Regions from separate parts of the Homo sapiens genome. Here regions 1 and 2 are each linked to region 3. The links are contacts of gene promoters, found by promoter capture Hi-C in blood cells and fetal thymus (Javierre and others, 2016). All regions are on one chromosome and are shown on one strand. The core of a region is centred on a gene start or on the middle of the fragment in contact, and the rest is flanking DNA. Distances in the headings are between cores, read along the strand shown.

Region 1 (4,301 bases), core at 1,346-3,845, 1.7 Mb after region 3:
TGCACACATACAAGACTTGGGTTGGCAGCATGTTGTGTGAAAAAGAGCTGAGTCCGTAAATGACCACACAAGTTTAGCATGAGCAAACAGTGTCATGTGACTGCTAAAAAATGTAAATACAGGCTGGGCACAGTGGCTCACACCTGTAATCCCAGCACTTTGGGAGGCCGAGATGGGTGGATCATGAGATCAGGAGTTTGAGACCAGCCTGGCCAACATGGTGAAACCCCGTCTCTACTAAAAATACAAAAATTAACCGGGCGTGGTGGTGCGCACCTGCAATCCCAGCTACTCGGGACGTTGAGACAGGAGAATTGCTTGAACCCCGGAGGCGGAGGACGCAGTCAGCCGAGATTGCGCCATTACACTCCAGCTCTGGGCAACAGAGCAAGACTCAGTCTCGGAAAAAAAAAATGTAAATACAACTGTAGTCCACTTTAATAGACGTGTCCAGATAATAATAGTCCAACTGCATTCTGAATTATTCAGAATAAATCTGGAGTACTGTGTTCAGTTGAAAGGGTCACATTTTAAGAGTGATAGCTCTTACTTATCCCTTTCTTTCCATTCCCAATCTTAGATACTCTCATCTCATATCTAGCGTGGTAGATTGTTTCCAAAGATGACCCAAAAACTCCTCCCATGGCACACGCCCTTTGTGGTGTTACTTTGCCACTCTTCCCATTAAGAAGTAGACTATTCCTCCTGGTGAATCCAGGGTGGCTCTGAGTCTTACTCTGACCAACAAGAAGTGATGCTCACAGGCCTAGGCCTAAGGGACCTCACAGCTTCTATTTTTGCGCACTTTGTTGTCAACCACCAAGTCAAGAAGCTGGAGCTAAACTACTGACTCATAAGAGGCCAGTGTGAAAAGAGAGGTCATGCAGAGAAGAAATGAAGGACCCAGCCAATAGCTACCACTGACACCCTAGACATGTGAGTGAAGCCATCTTGAATCTTTCAGCCCTAGCCAAGCCAGTGCTGGTGATGTTCTTCTATATCTGTGTGACTGTCCAATATGGCAGTCACTAGCCACATACAGGGCTACTGAATCCTTGGAATGTGGCTAGGGCATCTGAAGAACTTCATTTTTAATTTCATTTTAACTTAAACTTTAAATAGCTAATGGCTACTTTCCAGGCCAGTGTAAAAGTCTGTTACCACTCAAGTCATCCAGCATAATCCCGCTAAAGCAACTGGGCACAGGGCAGCCAAAAATCATCTTAGCACCTGCCCTTTAGGGGCTATAAGTATATATACAGTGACAAGACAAGGCGGTGGAGAAGGATGCAGTGTAGCTCTGTCAGCCTTGTTTTTAAAAATGAAAGAAAAAATATCTCCCTCTAACATCACCCAAAGGGAAATTTCCAAGCAATGGAATATATCATGATTCTCACATCTAGCCTAGAGAGCTCCTGACTAGAAAAGTAACTTTCAAAAACTGTTTCCTCATCTGCTGAAAAACAAAATTTAAACAGTCCCCTGGTTCACTCTTTTTGGGGGGAGAAGGGGAGCAGAAAGGAAATATGAGAGAGTCTACATTGCATGCTAGACACGGCCACATTTATAATACATCGAATTCTCTTAATCCTTTTTTTTCAAACTAAGCGAACATAAGTTCAGAGAGGTAATTTGCCAAGGACCTATGACTAGTTAGTGCTAAAGATAAAATTCAAAACCAGGCCTCTGAATTTCCGACCCCCTACTCTTCCCACCACAGCGGAATGCCTCACCTATCAAAAATAAAAATTTCTAATGGCCTATTGAGCTTTTCCATGATCTCTTCACCTAAGTAACTATTTCCAATTAATGCCTTCTTAGCAGACTGATCCCATTTTTCCTCCCTTCACTTTCCTATACTTCTTTTTCCTCTAATTTTACCCATCCTTCAAACTCCATTTTAAACTTTTTTTTCCTTCCATAGAACTTTCCTTATCTTATCACAATTGCCCTCTCTGAATTTTTATATTACTTATAATAGGCACCATATAATATAGCGTTCTCTGTTACACTGCTTTTCCCTTAAATAGACCTTAATCTCCTTGAAGACAGAAGCTATCCTATGTCTTTGGGGAGTGGCAATCTTTCCAAATTTCTTTAGCTTTCCCCCAGAGCCGTGAGTAGATACTTCTGGAATGGACGAATGATCTAAACTCAATAGACAAATACTTGTTGATTCATTAAAGACAGCCCCAAACTCTGCTGTTTCACCCTTTGCTTCATAATCTACAGCACACCAATTAATCCAAAAGGGCTGAGGGGCTAATCCACACTGCAGCCCCGCCACGTAACGCTACCCGCCCGCGCTGTCACGCCACGCCCAGCCTGCTGGTTGCAGATTTGGCGTAGCCCAACCCTGGGACGGCCGATTGGGCGTGGTGTGCGTGGCTGAAGGCGTGGCTGAGAAGAGAAACCTACGCTTTGGGTCAGACTCGGTAGCTTCCGGTAATCTTCGACAATTTCCGGCAACGGTTTTCTCTCTCGTCGACCAACCTCGGGTATTTCCGACTCCCTTCGGGCTTTTCCGTCTGGTTCCCGCTCGGCTTTCTCCACTTCGGGTATTCCCGTGTCCCGCTCGGAAGCACTCGGCAATCGCTCGGCCTCCCCCATCCCCCGGTAACGGTCGCTGGTGAGTTTAAATGAGCAGGGGCTGGCCGGGCCGGAGCCGCTACAGGGGGGGCCTGAGGCACTGCAGAAAGTGGGCCTGAGCCTCGAGGATGACGGTGCTGCAGGAACCCGTCCAGGTAATGATAACCTTCTTCTCTGGGGCTTGGCTGGCAGCCTCGGTCGGGAAGCAGCAGCGTAGGGCCACTCCGCGGCCTGGTGCGGCCTAGGCCCGGCTGCTTCTCCCGCCTCCCCTGCTGCCGTGTCCTGCCTATCTTTAGTCAGTTCGGAGGCCTTGCCCACAGCCTAAGCCGTGTTACCTCTGGCCCTACATTACTTCACCCTTAGCGTGAGCGGCTTCGGCGAAAATAACCGCCTTTCCCGTCCGAGCCAACGTCCGGCCAGCCTTTCCTGTCAGTCCAGGGGCCTGGCTTGACTGGGGGTGGGAGATGAGGGGCCGAAAATGCACCCCAAGCGCTCTCTTGCCTAAAAGATGATCGAGAAGCACATTTGATCGGAGCTTGTGTGATCTTCGTGACGGTAGGGCAAGTTTACGGAGGTTTTTTTTATTTTGTCTTGTATGAGAGGGTGGAGGGAGCGTAGGATCGGTCTTTTTAATACTAATTTCTATTTTGGTAACAGACTTCCTATCCCACGTTTCCTTTCTCGGTGAATTTCCCACCGGACAATGATGGTTTGAGAAGACAACTCCAAGCCTCAGTGCTGAGGCGCAAGCACCAATACCAGGGGAGGAGGTGGAAAGGGCACATTTGGGTTGTTTTCATCCTCTCTGATGGGGATCAGGAGCATTTTGTTGTGCATGTTTATAAGGCATTCAGGAAATGAAACACAAATAATGGTGTTTCTGTCCATTTCACTGCCTTTACACCAGGGTATGCTTTGACGCACAGTGCTGTGTTGCATTAAAGGAACCCTATTGGATTTTAAGTGTGTGATGCGGTGCCAAGTCATTTTCCCCCCTGACATCTGGAGAAACTGTATCTTTTGTGCCTTGGTAATGGACCAGGTCTGGGAGACTTCATCCCACTATATGATCTTTAACTTGATCAGAATTGACCTCTATCAACTGCTGTCATTGAGTCATGGACTTTATTTTGAAGTTATAAAGCAAACTGATTTTTAGAAATTCCTTCATATTGCCCTTAAAAGGCTTGAGGTATCAAACAGTAAATATTTTAATATATCACTACTTTCATATTTATTTCATTTTTCTAAACAGCATGAAATACTCATTTCTTCTAGTTTGGTTTTTTTCTCCAGCTGTTTACATATAGCAGCTATTAGTGTTTGAATTAATAAAACGTAAGATTATATCTTATGAAATTTACCTGTCTGTAAGTTGTATTAGTTTTTCTAGAGCTATTTCCATCCAAATTCTTTTTACCAGTATAGTTTCTTTTAAGATTTTTTTTTATTCTGGCTGTAGATGAGGTAATTATATATATATAATTTTTTAAGGCCTAACATGAACTTAAATAGATAAGCAGATTACTCAAGTTATTTAATTTCTGTTGCATATTCTTATAATTTTGTTTTAATAGTTAATGATTTTTTTTTTTTTGCCTTCTCTGGCCCCAGAAGTCTTCTAAAGTGATAAACTAGTTGCATTGATAGACTATAACCACCATTTAATAATAATTTCAGACTTTATAAAAGCATGGAAGGCCGGGCGTGGT
Region 2 (4,589 bases), core at 1,699-4,198, 1.1 Mb after region 3:
CCTGATAGTAGTAATCCCCTCCCGGTCCAGGCGGACAGTCTGCAGTTCATCAAGAGTGTGAAACCTGGGAAAAGAGTCAGTAAGGGTGGTGTTAGAGCACCACTCATGTGGTCTCTTAGCAGGGAGGATGGGAGACGGAGGAGGGAAGGGGTTTCAAGGAGGGGTAGTTGGCTGAGTCATTTTAATCAGATGTGAGAAACATCTTGACATCTTGAGGTGGTGTCTAGATCATGAAACCGGCTTGACTTGCAGACTCGTATCTCTATTGTTAGCACTGGGAAGGGTGAGAGAGAGGAGTAAGGGCCCTCTGGGAAATTGGGGGATGGCAGCTTATGGTTTCTGGAGAGATTCAGAGGCAAGAGAAACCTTCCTCTGGCCAGCTTGGATGGTGGAGGCAGGGGTGGGACAGAGATGAGACACTGCAGAAAGATCCTTCCTCACCTTCCTTTTGAGTCGTTCATGGAGAAAAAAGCACTTGTTCCATCCACCCATTCATTCATTCCACAACATTGCTGAGTGCCTACTAGAGACAAATGACAGAGTCTCTGCCCACCACTAATAAAGAAGCAGGGCAGGCTGACCATGGTGGCTTACCCTGTACTCCCAGCACTTTGGGAGGCCGAGGCAGGAGGATCGCTCGAGCCCAGGAGGTCGAGGCTGCAGTGTGCCATGATTATGCCACTGCACTTCAGCCTGGGTGACAGAGCAAGACCCTATGTCATAAAAAAAAAAAAAAAAGAGGCTGGGCGAGGTGGCTCACTGTAATCCCAGCACTTTGGGAGGTCGAGGTGGGTGGATTGCCTGAGGTCAGGAGTTCAAGACCAGCCTGGCTAACATGGTGAAACCCCATCTCTACTAAAAATACAAAAAAAATTAGCCGGGTGTGGTGGCGCACACCTGTAGTCCCAGCTACTCGGGAGGCTGAGGCTGGAGAATCGCTTCAACTCAGGAGGCAGACGTTGCAGTGAGCCGAGATCACACCATTGCACTCCAGCCTGCGCAACAGAGTGAGACTCCGTCTCAAAAAAAAAAAAAAAAAATAGGAAGAAGGCCAAACATCTATGACAAGTGGATAACAGAGGCAAGTACAGGGGAAAGGAAGAAGGAGGAGGAAGAAGGGAAAGAAGGAGGAAGAGGAAGAAGAAAGAAAGAAAGAAAGAATAAGGCCAAACATCCCTGACAAGTGGATAACAGAAGCAAGTACAGGGGACAAAGGGAGTACATAGGCTGTGCACTAAATTCACAGTAGGAGGAATCAGGGAATGCTTCCTAGAGGAGGTGACAGATGAGTAGGCATTAGCCATGAAGGTGGGGGGATATGGGGAGAAGGCATTTCAAGCAGAAGGAATAGTACATGCTAATACAGCCCTTCCGAAACTCCAATATGCCCATGCAGATTCTAATTCAGTAGATCGGGTGGAGGGGCTGAGATGCTCCACTTCTAACAAGCCCCCTGTGATGCCAATGCTGCTGTCCTACCCCTGCACCCCCTCCCATCCACACATACTCTGAGTAGTAAGGTACTAAGGTGTGAGTACACAGTGTGGGAAATTGTACACTTGTGGAGAGTGGCCAGAAATAAGGCTGAAAAGCAGAAGTCAACTCATGCTTAGGCATTGGGATTTATTTGGGAGGAAGTTTCTATCAGTGAATGCCTGATTAGATTTGTTATTTAAAAGGATCACTTTGGCTACTCAGGAGGCTGAAGTGGGAGGATTGTTTGAGGAGTTCAAGACCAGTCTGGCCAACAGAGCAAGACCCCATCTCTAAAAAAGTAATTAAAAATACTTTACTTTTTGTTTGTTTTAGAAATAGGGTCTCACCCTGTTGCCCAGGCTGGCATGCAATGGCATGATCATAGCTTACTGCAGCCACAGGTACCTGGGTTCAAGTGATCCTCCTGTCTCAGCCACCTAGGACTACAGGTGTGCACCACCATGCTCAGCTAGTTTATTTTTATTTTTTAGAGATAGGATTCTGTCTCTATTGCCCAGGCTGGTCTCAAACTCCTGGGCTCAAGTGATCCTCCTGCCTCAGCCTCCCAAAGTGGTGGGTGTGTAGGAGAGAGGTGAACACGGCCTTATCTAAGACAGTTGAGTGAGGATGGTGAAAAAGAAATGGAATTATTTTGAAGAAGGGAAAATCAGCTGGGCATTACCACTGATTGAATGTGTGGAGTAAGGAGAGAAACAAAGATCAGTTGACAAATCAGTACACGTCAGGGACCTGGTCATCCTGAGTGTTTCAGCCTTCTAGCACCCCTTTTCTCCCCCATGCACTCACATCTTCTCTGACAGTTCCCCATCTTCAGGGAAAGTCAAGTTCCGCTTAGTGATAAGGGCTTCAGTGATGCAGACGCCCCCTTCCTCTGGACCCTGGGCTGACTTCCCTGTGAAAAGATGAGTCCAACTGTGACACTTCCTCACTCTTGGAGGCCTTACCCCGCTGTTTTCCAACTGCTCTACCCACCGTCCCACCTCCCTACTCACCTCCAGACATGATCTAAAATAAAAGGCTGCTGGTCTGAGGCGGGAGAGGAACGAAAAGAGAGGTCTTGGCGGCCCCTAAGGATGGCAGAACTCAGGATGGCAGGAGGAGAGAGAAACTCAGAGACTTAGGAGAGGAGGAAAGGGGGTTGATTCAGAGAAAATTGCTGGGGTGAGGTCGAAGAAAACAGTAAATTGATGTGAAGGGTCTGGAGTTTGAGGGGTGTGGAGGGGCTTTGCTGGCAGCAAGCTGGGGTGTTGTGGGCAGGAATGGTTGAGAAAGGAGCAGTTCCTAGGAAGCCGGAGTCGTTGCTAAGAGACTGGACGCCGAGTGGGGAGGTAAAGGCGGGCTCCGTTGGCCCGGCCTAGCGCATGCGTCTTACGGCTACAGCCGGCGGGTACGCCCACTGCTTCCGGCCCCGGGGTTCGCTACCCCACAATCCTTAGCTCTTTCCGTCTCCACTCGGCTTCCGTCCATTCTTCCGGTGGAGATGGCTGCGGCCGTGGCGGGGATGCTGCGAGGGGGTCTCCTGCCCCAGGCGGGTAAGGAGTGGCCCAGGTCCTCACGGCGTGTCTTGCGGCCGCTCTCTAGTCCTCATCTGCCCTCCTCTACTACTGATTCTTCCCATAATCTCTGACCCCAGCTAGATCGCTGGCCTCCTTACCCCGTCCAGTTCCTTGTGACTCGACTGGTAATCACAGCAACAACGTCCAGATGTTGTCTGTCTCCAGCGTTTCTTTTGCCTGGACCACTCCTCGCCCAGACCTTTGCATTATGTCTCCATCTTAATGTGTCAGTCTAAATGTCACCTCAGGTCTTCCCTTGACTCCTTAGCCCCGTCGCAATCTGTAATTTTGCATTTGTTTAGTTGCTTGTTTCCTCTATTAAACTCCGCAAGGGCAGAACCATGTTCATTCAGCATAGCCAGCAGGTGGCATGGTGCTGGATGTTAGTAAGCGTGCGGTAGATATTTGTTTAGTGAATGGATTTGAGCACTTAATATAGGCCAGGCACTGTGATAACTATTTTTATATGTGTTAGCTCATTTAAATCTTTTAAATCATTTAAATCTAAAGCACCCTGTGAGAAAGACATTCGCATCTCCTCTTTACAGACGCAGCAACTGAAGTTCAGACCAGTTGGGTGGCCAAGGTCACAGCTAGTAATTGGCGGAAGAGAGATTAAAATCCAGTTTCGGCTGGGCGCGGTGGCTCACGCTTGTAATCCCAGCACTTTGGGAGGCTGAGGCGGAGGGAACACCTGAGGTCAAGAATTTGAGACCAGCTTGGCCAACATGGCGAAACCCCAACTCTACTAAAAATACAAAAATGAGCCGGGTGTGGTGGCGCGTGCCTGTAGTCCCCGCTACTCAGGAGGCTGAGGCGTGAGAATCGCTTACACCCAGGAGGCAGAGGTTGCAGTGGGCCGAGATCGCATTGCTGCACTCCAGCCTGGGCAACAGAGCGAGACTCCATCTCAAAAAAAAAAAAAATCCAGTTTAATTTGATTCCAAAGCCTGCCTGCAGTCTTAACAGTTAGGTTTTGTGGCTGCTGGCAATAAGACCTCTTACCCCAGCAAATATCCATACTCTCTGACTGTTAGAGCCGCCTTCTATCTGGACCTTTTTCTGAGGTCACATCCCAGTCTTGGAAATGACTGAAAGTGGGAAGTTCTAGTCTTGGCCCTTGTGTTGAGGATTAAGTGGTCACTTTGTCTCAGGGCTTTTGAGTGCCTCCCTTGTTTTCTGTGGGGTGCTCTGTAGCATTATCTGTAAACAGGAAGAGAGGAGGAAAGAGAAACTTGTCTGAGAGCTGTGAGAATGGTGTAACATTTTTTTCTCCTCTTCAAATCATAGGACAGGGTGTCAGAGCAGCGGTTAGAGTGGTGGTTTTCAAACTTTAGCATGCGTCAGCATCACCAGGAGGGCTTGTTAGAACACTATTTGTGACCCGTCTTGGTAACATAGTGAAACCTGGTCTCTACAAAACAAAACAAACAAAAAACACTATTTGCTAGGCTCCACCCCAGAATTGCTGATTCAGTAGGTCTAGGCAGGGCCTGAGAATTTATGTTTATTTTTCTTTCTTTCTTTCTTTTTTTT
Region 3 (4,517 bases), core at 1,270-3,769:
CCCCCAATTTCCCAAAACCCCCCAAACCCCCATCAAGTTACATACCTTAGTCATGTCAACAGTATCAGGTACAACGAACATTCCTGGAGGAGGCTCCTTATAAATGGACATGATATCCCTGTATAACACCAAGAGGAGGTGGGGGAAGGAGTGAGGAAGAGGGGGAAAGGGGGAATCCCTTGAGCAGGACAGTTGTTATCACCTCAATGAGGCCAGGGTTTGAGAAAGTGGTGCTTGGTACCGCAAGTGTTTGTACTGTCTTGTTGGCTGAGAAATCTCAGCTGAGTACTTGTCAGGCAGGCAGAGAGCAAATTATTATCAAAAGGGCATTGTTTCCTCAGGGGGAGGGGAGGGAGAGAGGAAAAAAATCAGAGATCCCAATGGCATCAAATGTCAGCCTGGAAAAGCCACTTTCCACTTACTCTCACTTCCTCCCACATGGCAATTCATTCACTCCCCACCTCCATGATTCCCAGGTACTACGACTGAATGCTAAATGAAGATTTTTTAGTAACTGGAAAGGCATCATCAACTCCACTAAAAAACTAATTCTATAAACTATACAGTGGACCTTTATTGGTAAGGGGATTGTATGAAGCAAGCCAGCCAGCAGAGAGTAAGACTATCATGGTGGCCTTCTTGCCCAGGGGTGTCTCAGGGTAGAGATCTCTTCAGGCTGGGGAGGGATCCTCAGAAATTGCTAAGAATCTCCCATCTGGAAGATGACATGTGGACTTCCATAGGAGATAAGATTTCTGACTCATATCTCACCAACTGGAATGGATCAGTTGAGAGCAAGGGGCTAAAGAACATTCTAGGTGGCGAAAAGCCTAGGGACTTGCTAGGGTGGGTAGGGACATAAAAAGGGCAAATAGGCGACAAAGCAGAGGAAAGCATTGGCCAAACTCAAAGGTATGTCAGAATTGGATGACTGAAATGGCTGGAGGAGGAAAAGAGTTGAGTGCTGAGTTTCAGTTAGAGGTGGCAATCCCTCCACAGTTGACCTCCTGTGTCAGGCACTGTGCCAGGTACTTTACACACATTATATTAATTTTTATTACAACCTTGAAAAGTAGACACAGAGACATCTGAAAGGACGTGGAACATGGGGAATAAGAACTAAACGAAGATGCTTGTGATGGGGGCATGGGGAGAAGTCAAACAGGTTTCAGGATTAATAGCTAAAGAGCACTGCCCTTTTCTTATGCGATAGGTACTATTCTATGTGCTTCTGGAAAACATCATCTACTAAATGATAGGATCTAAGATCAGTCACCCAAGAAATAAGCACAGAAAGGACTTAGGCCTTTGTTCCTATATTTGATGAGTATATTTGCTTCATAGAAGTAAAACAGACGACCCGGGGAGGGTGGGGGGTGGGGGGAGGGAAATTACAAGAAAGAAGCTCCTGAGTGGGATATTACAATCCAGAGTGGCACTGGGGAATTGGGGGGAGGTAGCCTGTGTTTCTGGAAGAGGCGTAAGAGTGGACAGCTTTGGGACACTGGAAAAGGGGTTCAAGGAAAGATTGGGGCGAGGGAAGCGATCTAGACCTGGGAAAAGACTGTGTGGAGGGAATCTGAGAAAAACGGAGGATAAAAAGAAAGGTTGGCTCGAGTCAGAGGCATGGCAAAGGAAGCTGAGTTCGTCTGTGTTAGGAACGGGGCTCCAGAGGAGAAGAGAGGGGACCGATGGGTGGGGCCTGCGGGCAGCATCTAGCAAGGTTGGGGTGGGGAAGGGGAAATAGGGGCGGCGCCGAAGGCGGGAGGGGGCGTTACTGAAGCGCTAAAGGGTCGGGTTTCCACCCGGAGGTGGGAGGTGTGGGGGAGGGTGGCCGGAATGGAGACGGAGGGCTCACGGGAGGTTGTCGAGGGGCGGGGTCGGATCTGGGCACACGAGGCGGGGGTTGGTGCTTGCGGGTCTGAGGGTGGGGGGAGAAGGGAGTTGGATCCCGACGCCCGGAGCTGGCAAGATTTGGGCCGTGGAGGTGGGCCGCCGCGAGGGCAGCGCAGTGGGTGGGGGGTGAGTTGTAGTGGGAGAGGGTGGGGGGCGGGGAAGGTCGAGCCCCGGAGCTCGGGGCTGGGGGAGGAAAAACCCCGGCTCACCGCTTGATCCGGAGTAGACACTGCGGCGCGGTGCGCTCGCCGTCCCAGTCGGAGCTGAGCGTGGGGTCCCAGTGGCTAAGCAGCGCGGCCCCGTGGGCAGCGGCTGAGGGCGGGAGCCCGGGCAGCGGAGCCAGGCCGCTCCCCGGGCCCCCGGCCCCGCCCGCTGCCGCCGCCGCCGCCCACACATCCGGCAGGAAAGGCGGCCCGAACCCGCCGCCGCTGCCGCTAACGCCAACAACACCAGCAACGCTGCTCGCCCCGGGGCCCGCCGCCCCGGCGCCCGCCGTTGCCGCCTCCTCAGTCGGACTCTCCGCCATCGCTGCTTCGCTTCCGGGACTACTCGGCAGCACGTCCGCCGACCAGAGCGGCCGCTGCTCCCGCCCGCTCCCGCACCACCGAGAACCGGGCCAGAGTGTCCCCACCCCCTCCGCTTCCACAGCCCAGACGGTGCTGGCTCCGCCCACCCCCGCCCCAACCAGCGAGAGGCGCTCTGCAAGAGCGTCCACCTACGGTCCTCCAGGACGGGAGGGGTGGGAACTAGCAGGCCGTGATGGTTCTGGGCTCGTGTGGGTCCTGCGCTGTGCGGAAGTAGCGGAGAGCCCAATTCAAGTGTTGAAAGGGGAGAAGAGAGGAGGGAGTGGGGGAGGAAGGGCCATATCATTCCCGTTAATGGCGGCGACCCTCAGACGTCTGCATGGTTAGGATTGGGGATCCAGCATCCTCATGGGAAGCTCAGTAGAGAAGTTGACTCGCTTTGGGCCCCTTCTCTCGGAAAGGCTCTGCGATTGATCCCTCCTGCACACTTGTGCACCTAGGGCAGGGTACCATTGCCCTTGCCTGCAACAGGACCAAGAGAGAACTCAACTTGGAATGAAAAGCTACCTCTTTTAGAGTTTATTCAACATATATTTATGAAGGGCCTACTAAATGCCAGTCACTGTTGCTAGTTGTTGCCATGGGGATAATGAAACAGAACTAGAGAAGCTTGGTGAAAGGAAGAAACATCAGGCCTCCTGACTCCAAGCTTAGTACTTTTTCTTCCCACAAATCTTGGAATATACAGGAATCGAGGTACTGTGAGTGTAAACCCTGAGGATTCTTTGGGTCTTTCCTAAAATGTTTAAAGTGAAAAATAATCTGCCAGGCTCGGTGGCTCACGCCTGTAATCCCAGCACTTTGGGAGGCCGAGGTGGGCGAATCACGAGGTTAGGAGTTCGAGACCAGCCTAACATGGTGAAACCCCGCCTCTATTAAAAATACAAAAATTAGCCGGGCGTGGTGGCGTGCACCTGTAGTCCCAGCTACTCAGGAGGCTTAGGCAGGTGGATCACTTGAACCCGGGAGGCGGAGTTTGCAGTGAGTTGAGATCACGCCACTGCACTCCAGCCTGGGCGACAGAGCCAGACTCCGTCTCAAAAAAAAAAAAAAAAATTCCTATGGACTAAGAATGACAGGGGCCTTCCTAAAAAACTGTTTTTCCTTGCCGGGCGCGGTGGCTCATGCCTGTAATCCCAGCACTTTGGGAGGCTGAGGCGGGCGGATCACTAGGTCAGGAGATCAAGACCATCCTGGCTAACACTGTGAAACCCCGTCTCTACTAAAAATACAAAAAATTAGCCGGGCGTGGTGGCGGGCGCCTGTAGTCCCAGCTACTCGGAAGGCTGAGGCAGGAGAATGGCGTGAACCCGGGAGGCGGAGCTTGCAGTGGGCGGAGATCGTGCCACTGCACTCCAGCCTGGGCGACAGAGCAAGACTCCGTCTCAAAACAAAAACAAAAACTTTTTTCCCTAGCAAAAATATAGGATCAATATTAACTGGAAACCAGTGGGGCCAGATGTATTTCAGACTTTGGAATGACACACCAAGCAAGGAGTGGGGCAGCGCCGGGTAGCCAAACCTATTGACATTTCTGCATCAAAGTGTATGAACATTCGTACCAAGTCAAATGAATAGCCTCACTTTGGATGTTTTGCCACCAAGTTTGGTTTTTTAAAAAAGAAGTCTGGGCCGGGCACGGTGGCTCACGTCTGTAATCCCAACAATTTGGGAGGCCGAGGTGGGTGGATCACCTGAGGTAAGGAGTTCGAGACCAGCTTGACCAATATGGTGAAACCCCGTCTCTACTAAAAATACAAAAATTAGCCGGGTGTGTTGGCAGGCGCCTGTAGTCCCAACTACTCAGGAGGCTGAGACAGAAGAATCACTTGAACCCGGGAAGGAGAAGTTGCAGTGAGCCGAGACTGAGTCACTGCACTCCATCCTGGGTAAAAGAGTGAGACTCCGTCTCAAAAAAAAGAGTCTGGCTTTAGAGTTTTTTTGTTTTTTGTTTTTTGTTTTTAAAGAGGGAATCTTGCTCTTGTCACGCAGGCTGGAGTGCAATGGCGCAATCGTGGCTCACTGCAATCTCCGCCT

What was found. Contacts are between HindIII fragments. The CHiCAGO score rates a contact against its expected background, and 5 or more counts as called.
Region 1: the fragment with the promoter of CDC27 here is called in contact with the fragment with the promoter of UBE2Z in region 3 in 1 of 17 cell types (neutrophils); the score reaches 10.0 in neutrophils.
Region 2: a contact is called between the fragment with the promoter of MRPL10 here and the fragment with the promoter of UBE2Z in region 3, in 1 of 17 cell types (non-activated CD4 T cells). The highest score is 8.7, in non-activated CD4 T cells.

What each region holds. Positions count from the first base shown.
Region 1 is chr17:47,187,589-47,191,889 of GRCh38, reverse strand. CDC27 (cell division cycle 27) reads left to right here and starts at 2,595. Exons shown (of 19, transcript NM_001256.6): 1 at 2,595-2,744. The coding sequence starts at 2,718. It also overlaps a transcript of MYL4 not described here. RefSeq lists enhancers at 2,671-2,860, 2,391-2,987 and a silencer at 3,021-3,070. The HindIII fragment of the contact is 9,297 bases long and covers 1-4,301 here.
Region 2 is chr17:47,829,900-47,834,488 of GRCh38, reverse strand. MRPL10 (mitochondrial ribosomal protein L10) reads left to right here and starts at 2,948. Exons shown (of 5, transcript NM_145255.4): 1 at 2,948-3,029. The coding sequence starts at 2,978. LRRC46 (leucine rich repeat containing 46) reads right to left here and starts at 2,819. Exons shown (of 8, transcript NM_033413.4): 1 at 2,490-2,819; 2 at 2,284-2,389; 3 at 1-64. The coding sequence starts at 2,499. RefSeq lists silencers at 2,783-2,942, 3,183-3,242 and enhancers at 2,705-3,534, 3,535-4,366. The HindIII fragment of the contact is 9,003 bases long and covers 1-4,589 here.
Region 3 is chr17:48,906,409-48,910,925 of GRCh38, reverse strand. It overlaps UBE2Z (ubiquitin conjugating enzyme E2 Z), which reads right to left and starts at 2,519. Exons shown (of 7, transcript NM_023079.5): 1 at 2,106-2,519; 2 at 46-118. The coding sequence starts at 2,422. LOC105371814 (a long non-coding RNA gene) reads left to right here and starts at 1,943. Exons shown (of 4, transcript NR_135674.1): 1 at 1,943-1,987. RefSeq lists enhancers at 738-787, 808-857 and silencers at 1,731-1,860, 2,131-2,380. The HindIII fragment of the contact is 3,469 bases long and covers 1-3,091 here.